7 separate regions of the Homo sapiens genome follow, and regions 2, 3, 4, 5, 6 and 7 are each linked to region 1. Evidence: promoter capture Hi-C in 16 types of primary human blood cells and fetal thymus (Javierre and others, 2016). All regions are on one chromosome and are shown on one strand. The core of a region is centred on a gene start or on the middle of the fragment in contact, and the rest is flanking DNA. Distances in the headings are between cores, read along the strand shown.

Evidence for each region. Contacts are between HindIII fragments. The CHiCAGO score rates a contact against its expected background, and 5 or more counts as called.
Region 2: the fragment with the promoter of TRIM38 here is called in contact with the fragment with the promoter of H3C10 in region 1 in 8 of 17 cell types (non-activated CD4 T cells, neutrophils, total CD4 T cells and 5 more); the score reaches 15.1 in non-activated CD4 T cells.
Region 3: a fragment that was not itself captured here is called in contact with the fragment with the promoter of H3C10 in region 1 in 2 of 17 cell types (neutrophils and non-activated CD4 T cells); the score reaches 9.5 in neutrophils.
Region 4: the fragment with the promoter of H1-2 here is called in contact with the fragment with the promoter of H3C10 in region 1 in 17 of 17 cell types (non-activated CD4 T cells, total B cells, neutrophils and 14 more); the score reaches 20.7 in non-activated CD4 T cells.
Region 5: a fragment that was not itself captured here is called in contact with the fragment with the promoter of H3C10 in region 1 in 2 of 17 cell types (neutrophils and monocytes); the score reaches 7.4 in neutrophils.
Region 6: the fragment with the promoter of H1-6 here is called in contact with the fragment with the promoter of H3C10 in region 1 in 14 of 17 cell types (monocytes, M0 macrophages, total CD4 T cells and 11 more); the score reaches 18.2 in monocytes.
Region 7: the fragment with the promoter of H2BC6-AS1 here is called in contact with the fragment with the promoter of H3C10 in region 1 in 16 of 17 cell types (erythroblasts, total B cells, monocytes and 13 more); the score reaches 25.3 in erythroblasts.

The regions. Positions count from the first base shown.
Region 1 is chr6:27,808,616-27,811,676 of GRCh38, forward strand. It overlaps H3C10 (H3 clustered histone 10), which reads left to right and starts at 1,436. Exons shown (of 1, transcript NM_003536.3): 1 at 1,436-1,921. The coding sequence starts at 1,459. The coding sequence ends at 1,869. H2AC13 (H2A clustered histone 13) reads left to right here. Exons shown (of 1, transcript NM_003509.3): 1 at 1-52. RefSeq lists enhancers at 1-418, 1,102-1,773, 1,390-1,679, 1,774-2,445. The HindIII fragment of the contact is 5,605 bases long and covers 231-3,061 here.
Region 2 is chr6:25,960,991-25,964,051 of GRCh38, forward strand. TRIM38 (tripartite motif containing 38) reads left to right here and starts at 1,812. Exons shown (of 8, transcript NM_006355.5): 1 at 1,812-1,865; 2 at 2,059-2,292. The HindIII fragment of the contact is 6,907 bases long and covers 1-3,061 here.
Region 3 is chr6:26,005,916-26,008,976 of GRCh38, forward strand. No RefSeq gene overlaps it. Among named protein-coding and RNA genes, the nearest start is that of H1-1, 10 kb to the right of the region's middle. The HindIII fragment of the contact is 1,649 bases long and covers 677-2,325 here.
Region 4 is chr6:26,054,914-26,057,974 of GRCh38, forward strand. It overlaps H1-2 (H1.2 linker histone, cluster member), which reads right to left and starts at 1,557. Exons shown (of 1, transcript NM_005319.4): 1 at 827-1,557. The coding sequence starts at 1,515. The coding sequence ends at 874. RefSeq lists enhancers at 38-659, 1,070-1,119, 1,210-1,609 and a silencer at 510-579. The HindIII fragment of the contact is 9,556 bases long and covers 1-3,061 here.
Region 5 is chr6:26,082,016-26,085,076 of GRCh38, forward strand. No RefSeq gene overlaps it. Among named protein-coding and RNA genes, the nearest start is that of HFE, 3.9 kb to the right of the region's middle. The HindIII fragment of the contact is 4,963 bases long and covers 1-3,061 here.
Region 6 is chr6:26,106,604-26,109,664 of GRCh38, forward strand. It overlaps H1-6 (H1.6 linker histone, cluster member), which reads right to left and starts at 1,532. Exons shown (of 1, transcript NM_005323.4): 1 at 809-1,532. The coding sequence starts at 1,490. The coding sequence ends at 867. The HindIII fragment of the contact is 5,524 bases long and covers 1,159-3,061 here.
Region 7 is chr6:26,171,144-26,174,204 of GRCh38, forward strand. It overlaps H2BC6-AS1 (H2BC6 antisense RNA 1), which reads right to left and starts at 1,630. Exons shown (of 3, transcript NR_186648.1): 1 at 892-1,630. It also overlaps a transcript of H2BC5 not described here. RefSeq lists an enhancer at 704-1,596. The HindIII fragment of the contact is 22,011 bases long and covers 1-3,061 here.

The DNA of each region.
Region 1 (3,061 bases), core at 186-2,685:
TTTGCAGCAACTCAATCCCAAAGGAACCAAAGGCTCTTTTCAGAGCCACCTACAATTTTGTGGAAGAACTGAGCACTATGTTTAATGTAATTTCTCGTCTTTGCCTACTTCTAAACCACTCCAAAGGTTACGTAGATCAGTCTTCGGTGTCTTGGTTAGGTAGTGACAATCTCGTTAGCTTTATAAAAAGCCTGGATAACATTAAAAGTATTAAACACGCCTTCATCTTAAGCTTAGTGGAAGAAAATTTAGTTTTTCCTAAGCTGGCATTATCCAAGTATGTTGAATTCTGTATGGTTCACCGTCGGGTTTTACTTTTAGTCTGTTGAAGCAAACATGTCTGCTTTGGGGCCAGATGTTTTCTGGGTCTTGGTAAATAACAAACCGGGCATTCGACGTTCAATCCAAATCTAGATCAACGACTTGGATTCTTCATTTCTGAGAAATATCTCTCGAATCTGTATAATTAATTGCATTTGAACATTAATGATTGAGTTGAGAATAATTATTAGACTAATTAGAACAGTTACTTATGGTGCCAGGTAGTTCTCTTTGAAGCATTTTCTGAAAATTCATTGAAATTAAAATTTCCCGAGCTTTCCCACCCCCAGCCACACAAATTGATTTCTTAGTACAGAGATGACTTAATTTGTTTCAGCATGGTAAATTCCACTTTTAAAATATCTGACTTGATGTTTTTAATCTGAATCAGATCTGGATGTACGAATGGAATAGATTCTTAAAAGAAAATGAATTACATTTCTAGAGTATTGGAAAAATAAGCTGCAATGGAATTACTTTAATCTAAAAGTGAAAAGTTCACATAAAGTTGTTTCTTTGACATTTTTTGGCCTTGAATTTCTCACATGCGAACCAGCTTTTCTTGGTTATAAAAATAGAAGTTTTTTAAATTTAAGTGGTCAAAAGATAGAAAATTGAGGGGACAGGTGTATAAGGCTGTCCTGTCCAGTATTGCAGCCACTAGCCAATTGTGGATAGTGATCATTGGAAATTCCATAGCATGAATTTTATATAAAATACACATTGCATTTGGAAAAGTCAGTGCCAAAAAGTGTAAAATACCTAACAATTTTAATTTCGATAACATTGAAATATGTTGGCTATATTGGATTAAGCAAAATATTAAAAATTAATTTTTCCTTGTTTTGTTACAATGTTCTCCTAGATAAGTGTAAATTACTTATATTGCTCTCATTTCCACTGGAAATCGCTAGTATAGTGAACAACTGTATAGCGAAAATAGAAAATAAAATATGGAGACCATGAACTGCTAAGTCTGTCAGAGGAATAGGTGAACAACAAAAATTTGAGTCCTTCGCCAATCCGGTTACTGTTGGGTAGGCCTTCAGCATACTTTTGTCCAATCAGCTTCAGACTCTCACTATAAATAAGCGGCTAGCTTTCTCTTTCTCCTGAAGTGAATCTAGCTCTGAAGGCATGGCGCGTACGAAGCAGACTGCTCGCAAGTCCACCGGCGGCAAGGCTCCGCGCAAGCAGCTGGCCACCAAGGCGGCTCGGAAGAGCGCTCCGGCCACCGGCGGTGTCAAGAAGCCCCATCGCTATCGGCCTGGTACAGTGGCTCTCCGCGAGATTCGCCGCTACCAGAAGTCCACCGAGCTGCTGATCAGAAAGCTGCCTTTTCAGCGTCTGGTGCGTGAGATCGCGCAGGACTTCAAGACCGACTTGCGCTTCCAGAGCTCCGCGGTGATGGCGCTGCAAGAGGCATGCGAGGCCTACCTGGTGGGGCTCTTTGAGGACACCAACCTGTGCGCCATCCACGCCAAGCGGGTGACTATCATGCCCAAGGACATCCAGCTCGCACGTCGTATCCGCGGCGAGAGGGCTTGAGTCTCAAGGACTCACTGATTACATACCCAAAGGCTCTTTTCAGAGCCACCCACATGCGCGCTGAAAAGATCTGTTTCTCTCAGGAATTCTTCCTGGTACTTGTTTTGCCTGTAGTAGATAGGGCCCATTTCCAGACGTTATACAATCTGTTTCGTAAGACTCAGCCTATCCCTTTTTGAATGCTAATTTTGGGAGTCTTAACATCTAATAATGTCCGGCATTTTTCCGTAAGCATTGAGTGTAGCCAAAAGTTCCTTCGTGTATTGCTCTCCCATCTCCGCAGCCCGGTTTTGACCGGATGGTGCTTCTAATTTTCTGCTAACCTGTACTGTGGTGTGTGTATATTTCTTGCCAACACGCCAGAAATAAAACTAAGGTTGTACTGAAGTTGGAAAAATTCAGGTTAATGTAGCTCATGCTGGCTAAAGTGAAACGTTCTCTCCCCGCCCCCCGTTCCTAAGCAGTGTTAAGTTTTCTTTGAATTTTTTCAAGCCGGATTTTGGGCCTGCTTAAACCACTTAAATGTAGTTAATGACAGATGGTTTGAGGTTTAAAAGTCTTCTGGAGAAAGCCCGCCAGAGAACATTCCCTTTGAAGCCCCATGTAAAAATACGTGTGGGAGAGAAAGTGTTTTCTCTGACTTCTGCTGACAGTGGCTAAAACTCTGAACTGTCAGGAGTATTCAAAATAAGACTGCCTTGTAGGTAAGCCTGTGGTAGTTTTTTTGAGCACAGGATAAAATACTTGAGTCTTTGCTTAAATGTTACTTTCTCAATGAGGCTTTGTATGACTAAATAAAATCTGTATAATCCCCACCTATTTTTTTCACCCTAGAATTTGTCACTATATGCTGTACCAGAGTTTGCTGATGTATTGCTTGTGTGTTCTAAAATACAGGCTCATGAGAGGAGGAACTTTTGTTTACTCGCATATCTCCAGTAACGTAGGAGCTTTTGATCAGTATTTGTTGGATAAATGAATGAATGCATGGGTATATAATAGTAAGGAGACATACCCACATGGAAAATCTCAAATGAAAGAAATACATCAGCTTGGTAGATATGCTCAAATCAGCTTCTTGTGGGCCAGGAAAGCCCTTACCTCATCCATTCTTGTATTCAGAATGCTAGATTTCTATAACTTCTTCTGTGAGCTCTCTAGCATTCTTATAAGTATTCAAGATTTTCCCTGG
Region 2 (3,061 bases), core at 562-3,061, 1.8 Mb before region 1:
ATACAGATACTTACAGTTATTTCTTGATTATGTACTAAACAAGGAGTGGATTATTCATATGTTTTCTGGGAAAGATGTGGGCAATTCCCAGAACCAAGCGTTCCTCCCCTTTTTAGACTATATAGGGTAGCTTCCTGACATCGCCATGGTATTTATAAACCACTATGGAGCTGGTGGGAATGCCTTCTAACTTGCTAACACATTATAATTCGTGTATAATGAGCAATGAGAATGACTAGAGGCCACTCTTGTTGCCATCTTGATTTTGGTGGGTTTTGGTCAGCTTCTTTACTGCAACCTGTTTTATCAGCAAGATCTTTATGACCTGTGTCTTGTGCCAACTGCCTATTTCATCCTGTGACTTACAATGCCTAACTTCCTGGGAATGCAGCCCAGTAGGTCTCAGCCTTATTTTACCTAGCCCCCATTCAAAATGGAGTCATTCTGGTTTGAACACCTCTGACAATAGGACAGATCTGGAATGAGCCATGCCTGGGTACAGAGTCACATCCACAACAATGAAAGTTGTAGATATCTGCAAGGACTCATCGTGGGACCAAGGATTCAGGGGCTCATTCTTTCTCCTCTCTCTGTGTGCTGGTTGCCTCAGGAGTAGAATGTCCCATGCTATGCATGGGGTCTGCAACCATCATGCCAGGGCATGATGAATCGTAGGTGGCAAAACAACAGAAGGCTCTGTGAGCACCCAGGAGGGTGCAGTGCTGAAGAGTCTTCTGCTTGGTATAGGAAGAAAGGAACGTGTTTCCCAATCTTGCCTTTATTTTGAGTAGTTGGACCAGAGGGATTGCAGCTGGGCCAAACTCCATGTTCCATTGGCTATCAGGGTCAGCAGGCAGGCCAGGGGCCCAGACAGGCCAGTGGCTCCCAGAATTCAAGTTTAATTTCTCCTCCCACCTGTGTCCTGAGCTCCCCTTACTGGTTCCCTTGGACCACTGCATCTACTTAAGCCAGCATTTATTATGTTGTTATCATAAATGCCTCTTACACCTGAGACTTATAAATGTGACAAGCTCTTATTGTGAGATAGTAATCCATCTTTTTTCCCCATGAAATAATAATTCTAACGGGTGGTGATAGTACTTTTCCTTTCATTTTGAAGTGGAGAAGCTGGAGCTAAGTCATTAAGGACTTGACCCTGGACCCCACAGCCTTTTCTCCACAAAGCACAAAGCAGAGTGATGGTCCCAGGGATCCCACACAGCTCTAAGCTGGGGGCACTCACTGCTGGGCCACTAGTGACTCCCATTTTCTATCCTGGCTGACCCTCGCTATTGAAGAAGATCTGAGTCCTGCAGAAGGACAGCAAGGAGAAAAACAAGACACAGAACGGGACAGAGAAGAATAGAAAGCTGACTCAGATGAATTTTGTGATGCCAATGAGTCCTACTGCTGTTACCACCCCTTTTTCCACCACACCCTTCAGAGCAGTTATAGAACCACAAGCAACCCATAAATAGCAAAAGAAGTAACATCAGCTAGGAAGGCTTAAGGACTCCCAAGGGAGTTGGTGGCAAAAGTAGAAAGATCTCAAATCAGAGTCTGTGAACTGAACCTCTGCAGGCTTCCTGTTTTTAGATACTCTGTGTTGGGGTCACATGATAGTTTACAGGGTTATTAATTGGTTCCTTCTTTTTATTGCTGTAAAAGAAGGATATTTTCTTCCTACGTTTCCCCCTCCTTTACCGGAGAGGCGGAGTGCAAATGATATGAACAACGTCACTAGTTTTCTCCTAAATCTTATGAGCCCCGCCTCCCACAGTAGTTTCACTTCTCAGTTTAATCCGGTCTGAGTTAACTTCCTGACCCAGGAAGTGGCAGCAACAGAGGGGACTAGCAGCGAATATGTAAGTGTCTGAGCAGTGAAGGTTACGGAAAAGGTCCAGGCTAAGGTTTTCTCAGTGGATATGTGAGTGTGTACTGATGGCAAGTGGGGTGGGGAATATATTTCGTGACAGCAGGGCCCCTCCAACTCTGAAAATGGTCAGGACTTTCTTTGTTTTACAGCTCTCACCTCTTTCCTGCTCTTTCTTTCACCAGACTTTACACCAAATCTCAGAAGATTCAGAACTTAGATGAGTGGGGCCCAGGACAGGAACCCTGGAGCCTTGGAAGGAGGGGAGCCCCATCTCCCCAGAAGAGCAGTGACCCCAGCAGAGAGGGGCCTGGTGTATCACTGGAGGAAATAGCCTGCCAAGGAATACACGTCTTCAGAAGAAATTCTGTGTGGCTTCAAGAGACTGATCAAATTGTGAGAGGAAAACAGCCTACCCGGTAATTGTAGTTAAATTACTGTTTTTTATTCTAGGCACTCTTCAAACTTCCTCCTGACTCTGCCCCTGTCCTAGAGGAGCTCCCAGGAGTAGGGGTGTGGGGGCGGGCGGGGGGGAGGGATCGGGGGTACAGGGAGAGCCCAGCTAGGTTCTCAGAAGAGGCAGGCTTTTTCGCTCCTGGTCACTCCTCTGTTGCCTATCCCTGGCCTCCCCCATCTTCTTTCTGCCTTCCCTACCTCCTTGGGTCTGCAAACTCTTTATGTTGCAATCACTCTGAACATGTCTCTTGAGATAGGTCCTGTCCTGGAGAAGAGATAGTAAAAGTAAACTCCCCAGTTCTGCAGGAGCTCTGATCCCATAGAAATAACTGCTCCTCAGGAGCAAACCCTCTGCTCTGCAGCCTTCTTTCCAATTCTTATTCCCTCAGTTTAGGGAGAGGGCACAAAAAGGATAAACCGGTTCTTCTGGTTGTTCTGGTTGCCTTGATTGCTTCCATTATCCTCCTGGTTGGGTCTCTAGCAAGACGTTATTAGCCAGGGAAGTCCCACTTAGGCACCCCTCTCTGCAGAAGAGGTATTCACTATTCTCCTTTCTCTTTCTTTTGCCTATTATACCTCTGCTCCTGAAAGCAAAAACAACAACAACAAAAACACAAACAAAAAACAACCGACCTTATTAACCAGTGTTGGTTGTTGTTCTTTGTGGGGGATGGGGGGGGTCGAGGTGGAGTCAAATTTTATTGTCATGATGGTGTAGGAGCCAAGGGAACA
Region 3 (3,061 bases), core at 251-2,750, 1.8 Mb before region 1:
AGTTCTGGGGATCTCTTCAAAGAATCTTTTCCTTGTTCTCCTAAACCTGGAGGTGGTAGTTGCTTTCTGTCATTACTATCTCTGATACGTTTGTCCACTTTTCCATTTTCAGTCCTCTTATAACTAGTTAACAACCATTCCCATAAAATTCTTTGTTCAATTTCAGTGCAATTTCTAGCTCCCAGTTATACCCTGACAGACACACCTTTAAATCTGAAGAGGCAATGGGAGGGAACCTGTAACCAGAGCTAGGCCAGAGCTGGGACTGTGGAGGAAGAGCTGCCCACCAAGCAGGGGGGTGATGCAGGGAATAAGTACACTAACCTCTCTCTCCTTTGCCATCTACATTCCTGCTGGGCTGATCACTGGCCAAATCCAGCTGTTGCAAGAGGGCAGGGCTGCCCAGCTAATGCTATCTGTAGAAGCTGGGCTTCTGGGGCACAGAGCAAGTCAGAGACAGGCAGAACAGGGATGTGGGTTTGGACCAAACACTGAATAAACCAGATCAAGGATTCTTCTATCAAGACAAGTTTATATACTTGCAGCTTGATCCCATTGTTTCCCTTAGATAACTGTGCACTTGTTTTTGTCTGCCCTCTTTCCTGTGTCTACACTCTTCCTGTCTTATTCTATTTACACATAGCTCAGTCTTTTCCAATTAAAAAAAAAAAAAAAAAGCTTTCCCTCTCCCAAATCTCCATGCAGCTGCTGACTTCTCTCTTCCAAAGCCACACTGTGGGAGAGTCAGTTACACCTCCTGACCTCTGACAGGTGCAACACACTATAGTGAGGCTTCTGCCCTTGGTATTCCTCTGGCTCCATTATTTACAAGGTCACTAATGACTTCCTATTTCTAAATCCAGAGTGCCTTTTTAGTTATCTTCCTTGCCTTCTTGGCATCTCTAGATAACAATACTTGTCTCATTCTAACTTTTGTCTCTCCTTACAGCTCTTTCATTCATAATTCATTGTTATTCAGTTGGAGCCTTGATGGTGTTAGGGAGAAGCAGCATTCTGTAGTCAAAGTGTTAAGCCTCAGTTTATTAGCATGCCTATATCTTGGGGCTGGGACCGTCACAAGTGTTTATAATGATACAACTCCTCCTCCTCCTCCTTCTCCTCCTCCTCTTCCTCAAGTGTTTATAATGATACAACTCCTCCTCCTCCTTCTCCTCCTCCTCTTCCTCAAGTGTTTATAATGATACAACTCCTCCTCCTCCTCCTTCTCCTCCTCTTCCTCAAGTATTTATAATGATACAACTCCTCTTCCTCCTTCTCCTCCTCCTCAGACCTTTGCTCCTTTCCTGGCTGCACCATTTCCAATTTATTTTCATGAAGCTCTGATCCCTGTTGACTAATTTTCTTCCCTTAAGTGAGACAGAAAGCCTAGATGAGGCTGCAGTGGGAAGAATTACCTTCTCCCAGCTGGGATAAGACTCTGGCAAAATGTTTTCCCCTTGAGAGTAGGCCTTTGTTTTGAAGAAGGTTCTGGGGTGTATTTCATAATAATTCTTCTCTCCCTGCCAAAGCCACAAGAGGATCCTTCTCAGATCTTCACTGCAGGAACCTGGTGGGCTTTCTGATGCCCACAAAAGTGTGGGAGCTTCTCACTCTCATGGGCATTCACAGTTGGCCTCCAGCTTTTTGTCAGAGTTACCAATTTAAATGTTCTCAAATGTGATACTGTCTCAACTTCCAGGACATCACACACTCATGATTTTCTACTATCCTGACATTTGCAGTCTTTTTAGCAGATCTCCCTCCCTCTCCCTGCACCATGGGTATTGGTCATCTCAGGATCTGTCCCAGGCTTTCTACTCTTCATGCCCTTTGAGACAACACATGATCTGACCTGCCCTTTCAGGAAGAAATGTTCTGTCTACCTACTTGCTCCAGTTAAAAACCCTAGTGTCATCTTTGACCCTTCTCATCCCTACATCTAATCTGTTGATTCTACCTCCTAATTTTCTCTCAAACGCATCTATTTTTCTTCAATTTCAGTGCTACTCTCTTGCTCTAATTGTACATCATCTTTTTTAGAATTACTGTGACATTTTCTTGCCTCCAGTTCTGCCTCAGTCCATCCACTTCACAGCTAAATTTTGGATGTACACTTTTGAACTATTACTGTAGCAAAAGTAATATGTAATAACTGTAATGCAGAAATATAAAATATGCAATATAAAAGAAATACATGCATAAATGATCCCAACACTAAGGAAACAATATTGATCAATAATTAAATAATTGGTGGATAGTGAATGACAACATAGAGCAAAGTGTTCAGTAGGTTTTAAAAGCTGTGGGTTCAATAAATGCTCATGAAGCTTGTTCAGGGGCTTGCAAAATATGTAATTTGAATTTTTAAAGAAAAGGAATTTCAGATAAGAAAAAACATACATAACATGAAACAATACTTGTGGTGGTTTCAGGGAGGTCATGTTCTCACATTCAGGTGCCAAGGCCACCGTACATCCGGACACTGAGGCCACGGACTTGGTCTGCAACCTCCATGACAGCCTTGTAGATTTGAAACCGAACTCCAAGGAGCAGTTGTGCTGTGAGTTCCAGAGTTTGGGGACAGAGGAAACACCATTCTTTGGAAGTCTAACTTCCTTAAGAGGTGTCCCTTAGACATCTAGTGTCCGGTGTTATGGAGGTCCTTGTGCTCTGAGGAAGGAGCCCCTTGTTGATTGATGGAGCAAAATTTTTTTAAACAAGGAACTGTACCCGTATCTGGGCATGAAGCCAGAGAAATCCCTGAGGGCAGGGCCAAGGCTCTCAAAGATTTTCAGGGAGATTCCCAGCCTTTTTAAGTCTCGCCTATTCTTTTTTTTTTCTCTAACTGGCCATTTTGTATATATGGAGGTTATTGATTTTTTTGCTTTTATATCCTGATATTTTAATAACTGTTCATTTTTTAGTTATTTGAATTATCTACATTGATTATTTGAATGTTCTTTTTTTTGTTTTTTTGAGACGAAGTCTCGCTCTGTCGCCCAGGGTGGGGTGCAGTGACAGGAACTTGGCTCACTGCAACCTCTGCCTCCTGGGTTCAAGC
Region 4 (3,061 bases), core at 307-2,806, 1.8 Mb before region 1:
CTAAACAGGATAAGCAACCGTAGTCATGCGAGGACAAAATGGCTGGCTAAAAGTTGTGCTTTCGATACGCTCAAAATCGATACGCTCAAACCTGTCAGTTTAGCGGAAGGCTACATGTTATGTGGCACAAAAAACTCCCTAGGTCCACGATTGCCTTGGGTGGAGGAAGGGCTATTGCCGCTGTTGTGGCTGTTTTTTAAATGCATTCCTTCGTTGCCACAGGAATGAGAAATTAACAGCAGAGGAATGTAGGACAAAGGTACCTGCACGCACTCTCCTCCCAGGGCTGGATGTTGCCACTACCTCCAGGAGACATCAACTTGACTACCAACAACATGGAAAGCGTCCGAAATCCCAGACATTAATATAAAGAGAAAAGAGGCAAAACTTTTAAGTCACAGTAAAGCAAAAAACACAGAATAAGCAACGTCTTCCACCATCCAATTAAATACAGAATGAAAGTCATGTACTAGAAGAACGGACCAACCCGGGAGCAGGGCGGGACTTTTGAAAATTTTTTAGTCCAATCCGGACATCCCTTTAGACTAAGAAACTGGCTCTTGTTTTGCGGTCTTTTCTGCCGTTCACAGGCCTGGGGCGGGACTGCCATCCCAAAACCATCCGCCAGCGAGAAAAGCCTCCGGTCAGGGACCTAGAAGCCGCAATAAAGGTTTAAATGCTGTAACCTCACCACGGCCACTCTCCAACCCCGTCACCCAATTCGTCTGATACCTCAGTAACTCCCATACGACTAACCTTAAGTAACAGGGCAGAACAAGAAAAGGCAGATAGTAAAGAAATTATCCAGCTCTTTTATTGAGATCAGTGGTGGCTCTGAAAAGAGCCTTTTGGGTTTTAGAAGTAGGCGTTCGCCTATTTCTTCTTGGGCGCCGCCTTCTTAGGCTTGACAACCTTGGGCTTAGCGGCCTTGGGCTTCACAGCCTTAGCAGCACTTTTGGCAGCTTTCTTGGGCTTCGCAACCTTGGCCTTCTTTGGGCTCTTAGCCACTTTCTTGGTTACAGTGGCCGCGGCCGGCTTCTTCGCTTTCTTCGGTGTTTTCTTAGCGCTCTTCTTCGGAGTTGCGCCGCCAGCCGCCTTCTTGGGCTTCTTGGCTGCCCCAACTGGCTTCTTAGGTTTGGTTCCGCCCGCCTTTTTAACCTTGGGCTTGGCTTCCCCGGAGGCTGCCTTCTTGTTGAGTTTAAAGGAGCCAGAAGCACCGGTGCCTTTCGTTTGCACCAGAGTGCCCTTGCTCACCAGGCTCTTGAGACCAAGTTTGATACGGCTGTTGTTTTTCTCCACATCATAGCCGGCGGCAGCCAACGCTTTTTTCAGAGCAGCCAGAGAAACTCCGCTACGCTCTTTAGAGGCGGCCACAGCCTTGGTGATGAGCTCTGACACCGGGGGACCAGACGCCTTACGAGGCGTACCCCCAGCCTTTTTGGCCGCCTTCTTCTTTACAGGGGCCTTCTCCGCAGGAGGCGCGGCAGCGGGAGCGGCAGGAGCAGTCTCGGACATGTTGAGAATCAAAAACTCGGGTACAAGTGGCAAAGCGCCGATGAAGCAGCGCCTGGGCAGGGCCGCTGTATATATAGAGCGCAGGCGCGCTCTGATTGGTGCTCTGGTCGCCCGCCTGGCTGGCAGGCTCTGAGCCGCTGCGCTGCTCCCAAGTTGTGTTTGTTCCACCTCACAAAAGGGGAAAAATATTAAAATTCCCCGCACCAAATCACTTGGGTTTGGTCAGGAAAGGATCTCAGAAGCCTCGGGCTTCATGCTCTTCATTTATTTTTTCCACAAACACAAAAACAACGCGTCCAGGCGTCCCCAATTCCCCCAACTCCGAAGGAAGTCTGGGGCAGTCAGAGACCACTTTCTGTTTTTCTTATAAATTACCTGTTCGCTCCTTTGCCCCTGAAGGTTCTTTTTCCCAGGGGTGGTTGGGCACATGCTTCCCTTATTTTTGAAGAAAAAAGCGAAATGGTTTCCACCTAAATTTTCATGATAATTCTGTTTCTTCACAAGGGAAGTAACACAGGTCCTCTGTGAATTCTTCGTGCAGTCGCACAGGAACTGTGGACTGGGACAAGGATTCCACGGCCAGTCCAAAGCAATTAGGGCGGGATGGGAGGGGGTTCATGAGCCTTGCTAGGGTCCGGGGTGGTGGGGGGCTACAGACTTAAATCTTTGATTTGAAGACATTGAAACTATCAAATCCCTCTTTTCATAGATGGGGGTGGGGCATCCTTTTCACTTCTCTACAGGCGAGAAATTGGGCTCTTTTTAAAGAGCTCTGAGGTCCCCCTCTGAGTTGTGTAAGGCAGGAGGTCTGGCCCTCAAGATAGAGATCATAAAGGAACAAGGGAGAGCCCTTAAGCCTGCAAAAAAGCCAATAGATTTGGCAGTTAGAGGCACTGAGATAATATGTTTTCAAAGAAAACAAGCATTTTTTATTTATTTATTTTTGTACGCTGCAATATAGAAATGAATTTCAGCCCATGAAAATTGTAGGTTACTTTCAGTAACCATACCTTACGCAAGTTACCATATAGGACAATCTCCAGTTGGGAACTCAAATATATCTTTTGAGTTGCAAATAAAGCAACTGACTTTAATAAAACACACTCTTGACTTTTAAGATGAACAATGTATTTGAAATTTATTTTTTTAAATAGCAAAATTTAACACAGAAAGACAAGAAAAGTACCAGAACATGTAATTTATTATAAGATCTGTTGTTGATGAGCTGAAAAATCACCTCTTCTCATCCCCTCTGAAACTATTCTGTTCTAAAGTTTGCTACTTTAAGGTTCACTACTTCTTATTTTACTCTCCGACCCCAAGTAATTGCTATTTTTTTCTTGAGATTAAAGGCAAAGTAAATTGTCTGCCCATATATTTGATATAATTATAGATTCATATTTAGGGACAAAGGTAATATTACAACTCCCCAACAATTTCTGCTCAAATATATGTTTTCATGAAAATATGTGTTAAAGAGAACAGCCTTAGATTGTGGGAAAGTCAAAAGGGAACCTACAAATAAGAGTTCAATGACAAATGAAAA
Region 5 (3,061 bases), core at 382-2,881, 1.7 Mb before region 1:
CATTGGCAAAGACCATTTTATGATGCAGACTTCTGCTTTTTTAAAGTTTGGGGGGAAGGGGAAACATTTTTATTCTATAATGCTGAAATTTCATTTTTCTTTTCTCTTTTTTAAGACCAAGTCTTGCTCTCTCACCAAGGCTAGAGTGCAGTGGCGTGATCTCAGTTCACTGCAACCTCCACCTCCCGGGTTCAAGCAATTCTCCTGCCTCAGCCTCCTGAGTAGCTGGGACTACAGGCACCATGCCCGGCTAGGATAACATTTTTTGTTTTTAGTAGAGATGGGGTTTCACCATGTTGGCCAGAGTAGTCTAGAACTCCTGACCTCAAGTGATCTGCCCGCCTCATCCTCCCGAAGTGCTGAGATTACAGGTGTGAGGTACAGCATCTGGCCTCATGCTGAGATTTCTTTCATTACCAGTTCAAACACCTTTCACTTTTCAAGGCACAAGGAGAGGAATTCCATGTGTTGACACTGGGAGGAAGGGTACAGACCTACTTAAAAGATTCAAAACTTCTATGACAGTAAAAGAAATGTATATCAAGTTCCTTAGGGCTGCCGTAACAAAGTACTATCAACTGGGTGGCTTAGAACAAAAGAAATTTATTCTCTCACAGTTACGTAGGCCAGTTGAGATCAAGGTATTATCAGGGCCAAGATCCCTCTGTAGCCTCTGGGGAAGGATTCTTTCTTGCCTGTTTCCACTTCTAGCAGCTTCCTGTGTTTGGTTTGTGGCAGCATAACTCCAATCTCTGCCTCCATCTCTACCTGGCCATCATCCCTCTGTGTCTGTGAGGACCCCAGTCATTGGTTGGAGGACTCACCCTATTCCACTATAATCTCTTCTTAACCAGTGAACTCACCGTATTCCAGATAAGGTCAGGTTCACAGCTACTGAGGGTTAGGACAGAGTATCTTTTGGGGAGATGCAATTCATCCCATAAGTGGGTGGAAAAGGATGATTAACAAGTGGTATGTGGGGATGTATTGTTTTGCATCTACGTAGCTCTCACCCCATTTCTTTCCACAACACACATTTGTCACTCTATTCTTTATTAGGTTTACAGAGAAAAGTAGATCTTCAACCACTTTCCTGGGATGTGGATACAGCTCTTTTTTTGGAGACAGGGTCTCATTCTGTCACCTAGACTGGTGTGCAGTAGCACTATCATGGCTGACTACAGCCTCAATGTCCCAGGCTTAAGTGATCTTCCCAACCTCCTGAGTGGCTGGGACCACAAGTGTGTGCCACCACACCTGACTAATTTTATTTTTTAATTGTTTTGTGAAGACAGCATCTCCCTATGTTTCCCAGGCTGGTCTTGAATTCCTGGGCTCAAGCCATCCTCCTGCCTCGGCCTCCCAAAGTGCTGGGATTACAGGCAAGAGCCTCCATGCCTGGCCTTCAACTCTTGACCTTATGAACACAGCCCTATACCAGTTCCCTTCATGCATGTGCCTATAAGCTAAACCCTTTCCCAAGTGTACATGAAAATCTGAACCCCAACAAATATGGCCTAATTCTAAATCTGACTTTCCCAGGAGTAATTTTTGTCATTTCCAGCTTACCAGCCTTTGTGAGTGTTGAATTTCAGCATTTCTGTTTGCTTGCAGCAGAAGGTGGAGCCAGGATAGGGTGGCTCAAGATTAGAGTTTCTTCCTTAACAGTTCAGTCAACTTTTTAATCTTGGATTTATAGCTTCCTACCTGCTCTCTTAAAGGTGAAATGATCTATTCACCTTCAGACCATTTGCCCTCGGGGTCTCACTGAGCAATCTATGGCTTAAGTCTTCTAAGTCTCTTAATGGCCAAATACAATGGACAATTTTCAGGTATATCTGACACCATTTCTCTGCAGCCTTTGGCACCTATAACCACTCCATGGCTTCCACAATGTGATTGGTCATTTCTTTTTTGTTTATATGACAAGTTTTTATTCTTCTTCTGCCTGTTAAATGCGCCTGACCCCCAGTGTTCTGATTTTCACTATTTTTCTTAAAAAAAAAAGTTTAAATGAAAAAAGTTTCTTATGAAAATATTAAAACATATACAAAAATAGAATAGACATTGATAATAGATCCTAAAATTCCTAGGGAAATTCAGCAGACTGAGAATAGCTAATATAGTCTTCCAAAAAAAGATCAAATTTGAAGTTGAGAAACTTCTTGAATTCAATTTACTAAAAAGCTATAGTAATCAAGACAGTGTAGTCCTGACATAAAGATAGGATTATAGTCTGGGTGTGGTGGCTCATGCCTGTAATCCCAGCACTTTGGGAGGCTGAGGTGGGCAGATCACCTGAGGTCAGGAGTTCCAGACCAGCCTGACCAACATGGTGAAACCCCGTCTCTACTAAAAATACAAAAATTAACCAGGCATGGTGGCAGGTACCTGTAATCCCAGCTGCTTGGGAGGCTGAGGCAGGAGAATTGCTTGAACCTGGGAGGAGGAGCCAGTGGCCGGGATTGGGCCACTGCACTCCAACCTGGGCAATAGAGTGAGGCTCTGTCAAAAAAAAAAAAAGATAGGATTATAGATTATAGCATAATGGGATAAAATTGAGACTCCAGAAATAAACTCTCACATTTATGGTAGATTGATTTTTGATAAGGGTGCCAAAACACTTCAATGAAAAAAGAGTCTTCTCAACAAGTGATGGTGGAACAACTGAATAACCACATTTTTGTTCTATCTGGGGCCCTGATTCAAAAACCCAGGCAAAGATGGAGAGAAATCAGAACTCTCATACACTGCTGATAGGAGGATAAAATGCTTACTTTGGAAAAGAATGTGGCAATTCCTCAAAAGGTTAAACAGTGTTACCATATGACCCAGCAAACCCACTTCTAGATATATAACCAAAAGAAATCAAAACATAAGTCTACAAAAAAACTTGTACATAAATGTTTATAACAGCACTATTCCCAATAGCCATAAAGTAGAAACAAACCAATGTCCATCGGCTGATGAATGAATAAATAAAATATGTTGTGGTATGTCCTTATAATAGATATTATTGGTCCATGAAAAACATACATAAAAACATTATGCTAAATGAAAG
Region 6 (3,061 bases), core at 282-2,781, 1.7 Mb before region 1:
CAGAACTTAGATGCTCTTACATGTAAAAGCCTCCTCTAGTGCACCATCGAGCTTTTCAGGATTGGACATCAGACTTTTTAGTTCCTGGACCTCTAGATATACGGCAGTCTCTGACAAGAAGCCCTTTTTCTGTTTTAACTTTTTTTTTTTTTAAGTTTTGAGACAACGTCTGACTCGCTGTCACCCAGGCTGGAGTGAGGTAGCACCATCATAGCTCACTGTATCCTTAAACGCCTGGGTGCAGGGACTAAGGGAGCGTGCCAACCATGCTTGACTAATTTACTTTTTTGTAAAACCAGTAGTCTCCAACCTTTTTGACACAAGAGACCGTTTTGTGTAAGACAATTATACCACGGACCAGGGGGTGCAGGGGCTGGGAGCAATGATTTCCGGACTAAAACTGCTCCAACCTCAGATCATCAGGCATTAGATTGTCACAAGGAGCCTGAAACCTAGATCCCTTGCATGTGCCATTCACAATACAGTTTGAGCTTATGAGAATCTATCTAATGCTGCAGCTAACCTGACAGGCGGTGGAGCTCAGTTGGTTAATGTTCGCTCACCCCTCAGCTGTGCGGCTCAATTCATAACGTGCCATGGACAGGGACCGGTTACCGGTCGGTGGCCGGGGAAATGAGGACCCCTGGTATAGATGGTAGTCTGGCTATGTTGCCCAGGATGGTCTTGAAGCCTGGCCTGAATTAATTCTCCAATCTCAAGCCTTTTCAACTCAGCTGCATCACAACTTAAACCTATAGATAACTGTCACAGAAACTTGTTTCCAGTGTTACGCCATCTTAAAATAATGTGGGTGGCTCTTAAAAGAGCCTTTGGGTTCTTTCCAAATTGGCCTCCCGGAAAGCTCTTTACTTCTTAGATGTGGCCTTTCTAACATTAACTTCATGATGTTGGGTCAATTTTGACTTCGAAGCCCTTGCCTTCACTGGGCTCTTCTGCTGTTGCTTACCCTTGGCTCCTTTAGCCTTTCTCCCGCTCCTAACAGTTTTAGGAGTTGTCGCTCTCGGCTTCTTGGCTCTCTTATTGGTTTTAGCAGTCTTTGGTGACTTGGAGTCCCTGGATAAAACCAGCTTCTTGGTCTTGGCAGAAACTGACTTTTTAGCCTTGCTTCTGGTAGATTTAGGAATCACCTTCTTACTAAGCTTAAAGGAACCGGAAGCACCAGTACCCCTGGTTTGCACCAGGATTCCCTTGTTCACTAAGCTCTTGAGGGACAGTTTGATGCGGCTGTTATTCTTCTCTACGTCGTAGCCAGCAGCGGCCAATGCCTTCTTGAGCGCAACCAAAGACATACCTACTCGTTCCTGTGACACTGAAAGGGCCTCGGTGATCAACTTGGACACAGAGAGGTTCGGCACTTTGCGACTTGCACTTATCAAGCCAGCCGGCTTCCTCCCTCGCTTCTTGGTTGGAAGTTTCTCCATAGCGGCTACACCAGCACTGGCAGAAGCTGCAGGCACGGTTTCAGACATAACAACAGAGAAACGCAAGATGTAATAACCAGCGAAAAGCATGAAACACCCGGGCGGCCTCGGGGCCTTATATAGGGTAGGGCGCGCTGTGATTGGTGCATCACCTAGGCACCGCCCCCGCCCCTTGGAGGAGGAGTATTTGTGTTTGTTTTACCCGGAAAAGTTGAGTATAACAAAACCCCTCTTTACAGAATCTCCCAGGGTCTAGTGCTGAATAATCTGCGGAAATTCATATTTGACATGACTTTTCTCTTTTTAATGAAAAATGACCCTGGATGCCAAAACTATTCGAGAAAGCCCTCGATTTTCAATCAAATTCACGGAGAGGAACAAAACTTCCCCTTTTCCTTGTAAATTAATAAGTAATCTTTGGCAGAAGACTTATTTCATCTCTTCAGAGTGGTCTTCCAAATGGATAGCTTCAAATCGGTAGAGGAAAGAAATTATTCACGCCATGATTTTTATTTAAAATTATTTATATATGTGAGGGAAGTAACACAGATCTCTTAGCTGTCTAATTGCGGAGTCAGAAGATGCTTATAGAATTGTCAAAAGACTGCAGAGGATGTCTTTATTTAGGCATGTGCAATCTAATAAATCATAATCCACAGGAACATGGGTTGTCTGTAATTAAAGGTGCTCCCAAGTCCCTGTAGCTTTATAGAGGACTCTCAAGGATGGGGTAATATCAAGATCTCACACATTATGTAAGATTGGCCATAATCAGGCCACTCTCATGACCGGTGTCCTCAACTGAGTTTTGCTTCTGGTTTCATTAATTGAAGTCCCCTCTATCCCCCTGCCCACCCCTACATCCCCAGATAAACAGACACAGTCCCTCCCCTAAATTAACTATAAAACATGAGGTAGGAACCCTAGACTCAAGAACCTACTAGAAACTACAGACCCCATGTCTAACAAGACTGGGCGGGTTGGCTGGGCGCAGTGATTCATGCCTGTAATTACAGCACTTCGGAAGGCTGGAGGCCAGGAGTTCAAGACTAGGTTGGCCTGGTCCCTACTGAAAAAAAAAAAAATTAGCTGGGTGTGGTGGCACATGCCTGCAGTCCCAGCTTCTGGGTAGACTGAAGAGGATCACTTAGAGCCCAGGAGCTTGAGGTCGCAGCTACTGCACTCCAGCCTGGGCAGACCCTCATCTCTGAATTGCTTAATTAATTAACTGAGCTGGCAGATTTGGCTGCATAGCTGTGGGGAAAGGGTTGTTGGAATAATGTCCAGTGTGCTCCCCTGAGCTTCTACTGGAACAGGTCTTTGTGAGAGGCCTGGAGATAAGAGCTTGCTCACAAAGGCTGAGGCCTTTCTGGGATGCTGAATGAGTTTAGTGTGGCCAGAGCATAGGGTCTCAGCAAAGGAAAACTCCATAAGGGCCATTTGTGAAGATCCCCAAATACTTGTGTGAAACATTTGGTAGATATTAGAAGTTTTGTTTTGGTTTGGTTTGAGACAGAGTTTTGCTCTTGTTGCCCAGGCTGGAGTGCAATGGTGTGATCTTGGCTCAGTGCAACCTCCACCTCCCAGGTTCAGGCAATTCTCCTGCCTCAGCCTCCCAA
Region 7 (3,061 bases), core at 380-2,879, 1.6 Mb before region 1:
AGGGGAAGGAACTAAAGGTGTTTGCACTTCATGTTACTTTTTGAGTTTATAAACATAAAAACAGAATTTACTTCTGTTACAGACCTAGTTACTGGGAATTCATTACTTGCCATGGACTACCTTTGCTAAGAAAAGTCTGAATGAGAAGATGGCAGGACGTCTGAAAAAAAAAGTTATAATTAATAAAATCTGCGGAGAATTGTAAATTCTGCCTTCATTGTTGATCCAAACCTTTCTTCTAAGACCTCCCCTTTCTAGACATCTATCTACCTATTTTCACTTTACTTTCCAGCATCAAGGAGGTCTGAGTGGATAAGGCCTAAGCACTGATGTGGCTTTGGTAATGAACCTGAAGTTAAAAACTGGTTAGCTTATGCTAAGCTGCCATTTGAAAGGTCTCCTCCAGCATCTGAATTAAGGGAAACAATGTTTTGAAGCAGTCACAAAACTTTTCTGATGCATTAGATCTGAGGTAGGACCTGATAATTTGTACTTCTAAATTATGCAGGTGATGCTGATGCTGCTGGTCCGGAGACCACTTTGGAGAGTTTTACTTTAAAGGAAATGAAACTGCCCTAAAATGCTAATACTAAATAGCCACACAAAGCCGGAAAAAAGCAAAGAATTTCAAACCGAAGATGAGAGGTCCTGAAAAATAACAGCGGTCATCCTACTCCCGGTGCGGCTATGCGGCCATGAAAAGGAGTCTTGGGGCCGGTCGTGCCCCTCCACGCAGGCTCCCTCATAGGGTCATCCCATCAACCCTCGCCAAAAACGCCGGCCCCCTCATAGGGCCGTCCGGCCACGCCCCTCCGTGCCCTAACCACAGAGCCACACGTTACGCCGCCGCCCCGTTACGCCCATCCGGCTCCCGCATAGGGCGTCACGTACGTTTAACGTCGGCCCGGCGCGCGCGTCCGGGAGGTTGCCCGTAGGCCGCTAACTGGTGGTTCCCAGTCCCCGCCGACTCGGCCTCTTTCTTCTGCGGCCACCAGATCGCGGGATATCGGAGACTTCGAACAATCCGCTGGAGTCCTTTACAGTTTAAAAACAGAGGACCGGCCGGGCGCGGTGGCTCACGCCTGTAATCCCAGCACTTTGGGAGGCCGAGGCGGGCGGATCACGAGTTCAGGAGATAGAGACCATCCTGGCTAACACCGTGAGACCCCGTCCCTATCAAAAGTACAAAAAAATTAGCCGGGTGTGGTGGCACGCGCCTGTAGTCCCAGCTACTCAGGAGGCTGAGGCAGAAGAATCGCTAGAACCAGGGAGGCGGAGGTTGCAGTGACCGAGATCGCGCCGCTGCACTCCAGCCTAGGCGACAGAGCGAGACTGCGTCTCAAAACAAAAAAAACGGAGGATCGAAAATTTTGAAGACTGAGAGCAAGGCAACAATCTTCCCTTGACCTTTTTGCTCCTCTCACAAGGGTTTTTCAGACGGCTGAAACCAACGAAAAGAGTGAGGAAGCAGGCAGAAAATTTCAGCTTTAGTCTCTCAGCATCCTCCTGCTTTCTTCTCGGGGAGCTGGCACTTCCCCCTTCTCTAGTAGCTGTAAATACGCCTCCCAACTCCAAGGAGACCTTTCTTGCATCTCCCTTACTGTTCTCACGCCTGTAGGGCTCTTCGTGTGAGGATTCAGTGTATGTATGTATGTATATGAATGTGTGCGAATAATTATTTCCTAATTGAGTTTTTTTTTAAAAAAATCATCTTCCGGTACACGCAGTGCCGTACTCCATTAAACAGCAGGCACGGTGTCTAGGGTCCGCAGTTCTTTTGGAGGCTCATGAAAATATTTTAATTTCTTCTAAAGTCAGAAGGAAAAAAATGAACATTTAAGTCGAAGAAGATGTTACATATTAATCTTCATATGACTTTAATTTTTTTTTTTTTTTTTTTGAAACGGAGTCTCGCTCTGTCCCCCAGGCTGGAGTACAGTGGCGCAGTCTCGGCTCACTGCAAGCTCTGCCTCCCGGGTTCACGCCATTCTCCTGCCTCAGCTTCCCGAGTAGCTGGGACTACAGTCACCACGCCCGACTAAGTTTTTTTGTATTTTTTAGTAGAGACGGGGTTTCACCGTGTTAGCCAGGATGGTCTCGATCTCCTGACCTCGTGATCCGCCCGCCTCGGCCTCCCAAAGTGCTGGGATTACAGGCGTGAGCCACAACGCCTGGCCTATGCCCACTAATTCCAATTCTTATTTGATCTAATTGTTTATAGATTCTTGTGAACTTTTACCTTGACAATTATGTTATTTTCAAAGATAATCATCTTTTCCTATTGAATCCTTGCTCTTCTGACTGCCTGTTCCTATCTCATGGTATTGGCCAAACCCTGTGATGCCGTGTTGAATAGGAGTACTTTCTCACCACACTTGTCTTCCTTCCGCCTCTATGGGAATCCTTCCAAAACGGCACCATTAAGTGTTATACTCGCTGTAGCTCCTCCTTATGAAGTTCTCTTCTCATTGTAGTCTGTTAAGTGTTTATGATTAAAGAGTGTTATATTTTGTTAAATGCTTTCGCAGTATCTTTGGAGATGATCATGTTTTTTCTTTATTAATCTCTTTTTTATTTTATTTATTTTATTTTATTTTATTTTATTTTTTATTATTTTAGTTTTTATTTTGAGATGGAATCTCACTCTGTCTCCCAGGCTGGAGTGCAGTGCCCTGATCTAAGCTCATTACAACCTCTACCTCCCAGGTTCAAGCGATTCTTCTGCCTCACTTTCCCAAGTAACAGGGACTACAGGTGCGTGCCACCACATCTGGCTAAGTTTTGTATTATCAGAAGAAGATAGGCCGCCATTGGCCAGGCTGGCCTTGAACTCCTGACATTAAGTGATCCACCTGCCTCAGCCTCCTAAAGTGCTAGGAATACAGGCGTGAGCCACTGCTCTGGGCCTTCCTTTATTAATTTCTTAAACTGGCAGATTTAGAATACTAAACTTCCTTCTATTCTTAGAATAAACCCTATATAATCAGCTATTTATTTAAATAACATGGTCTCTGCAATTTCTCCTGGTTTCCATTTTTTCTCATAATAGGCATTTTTTTCT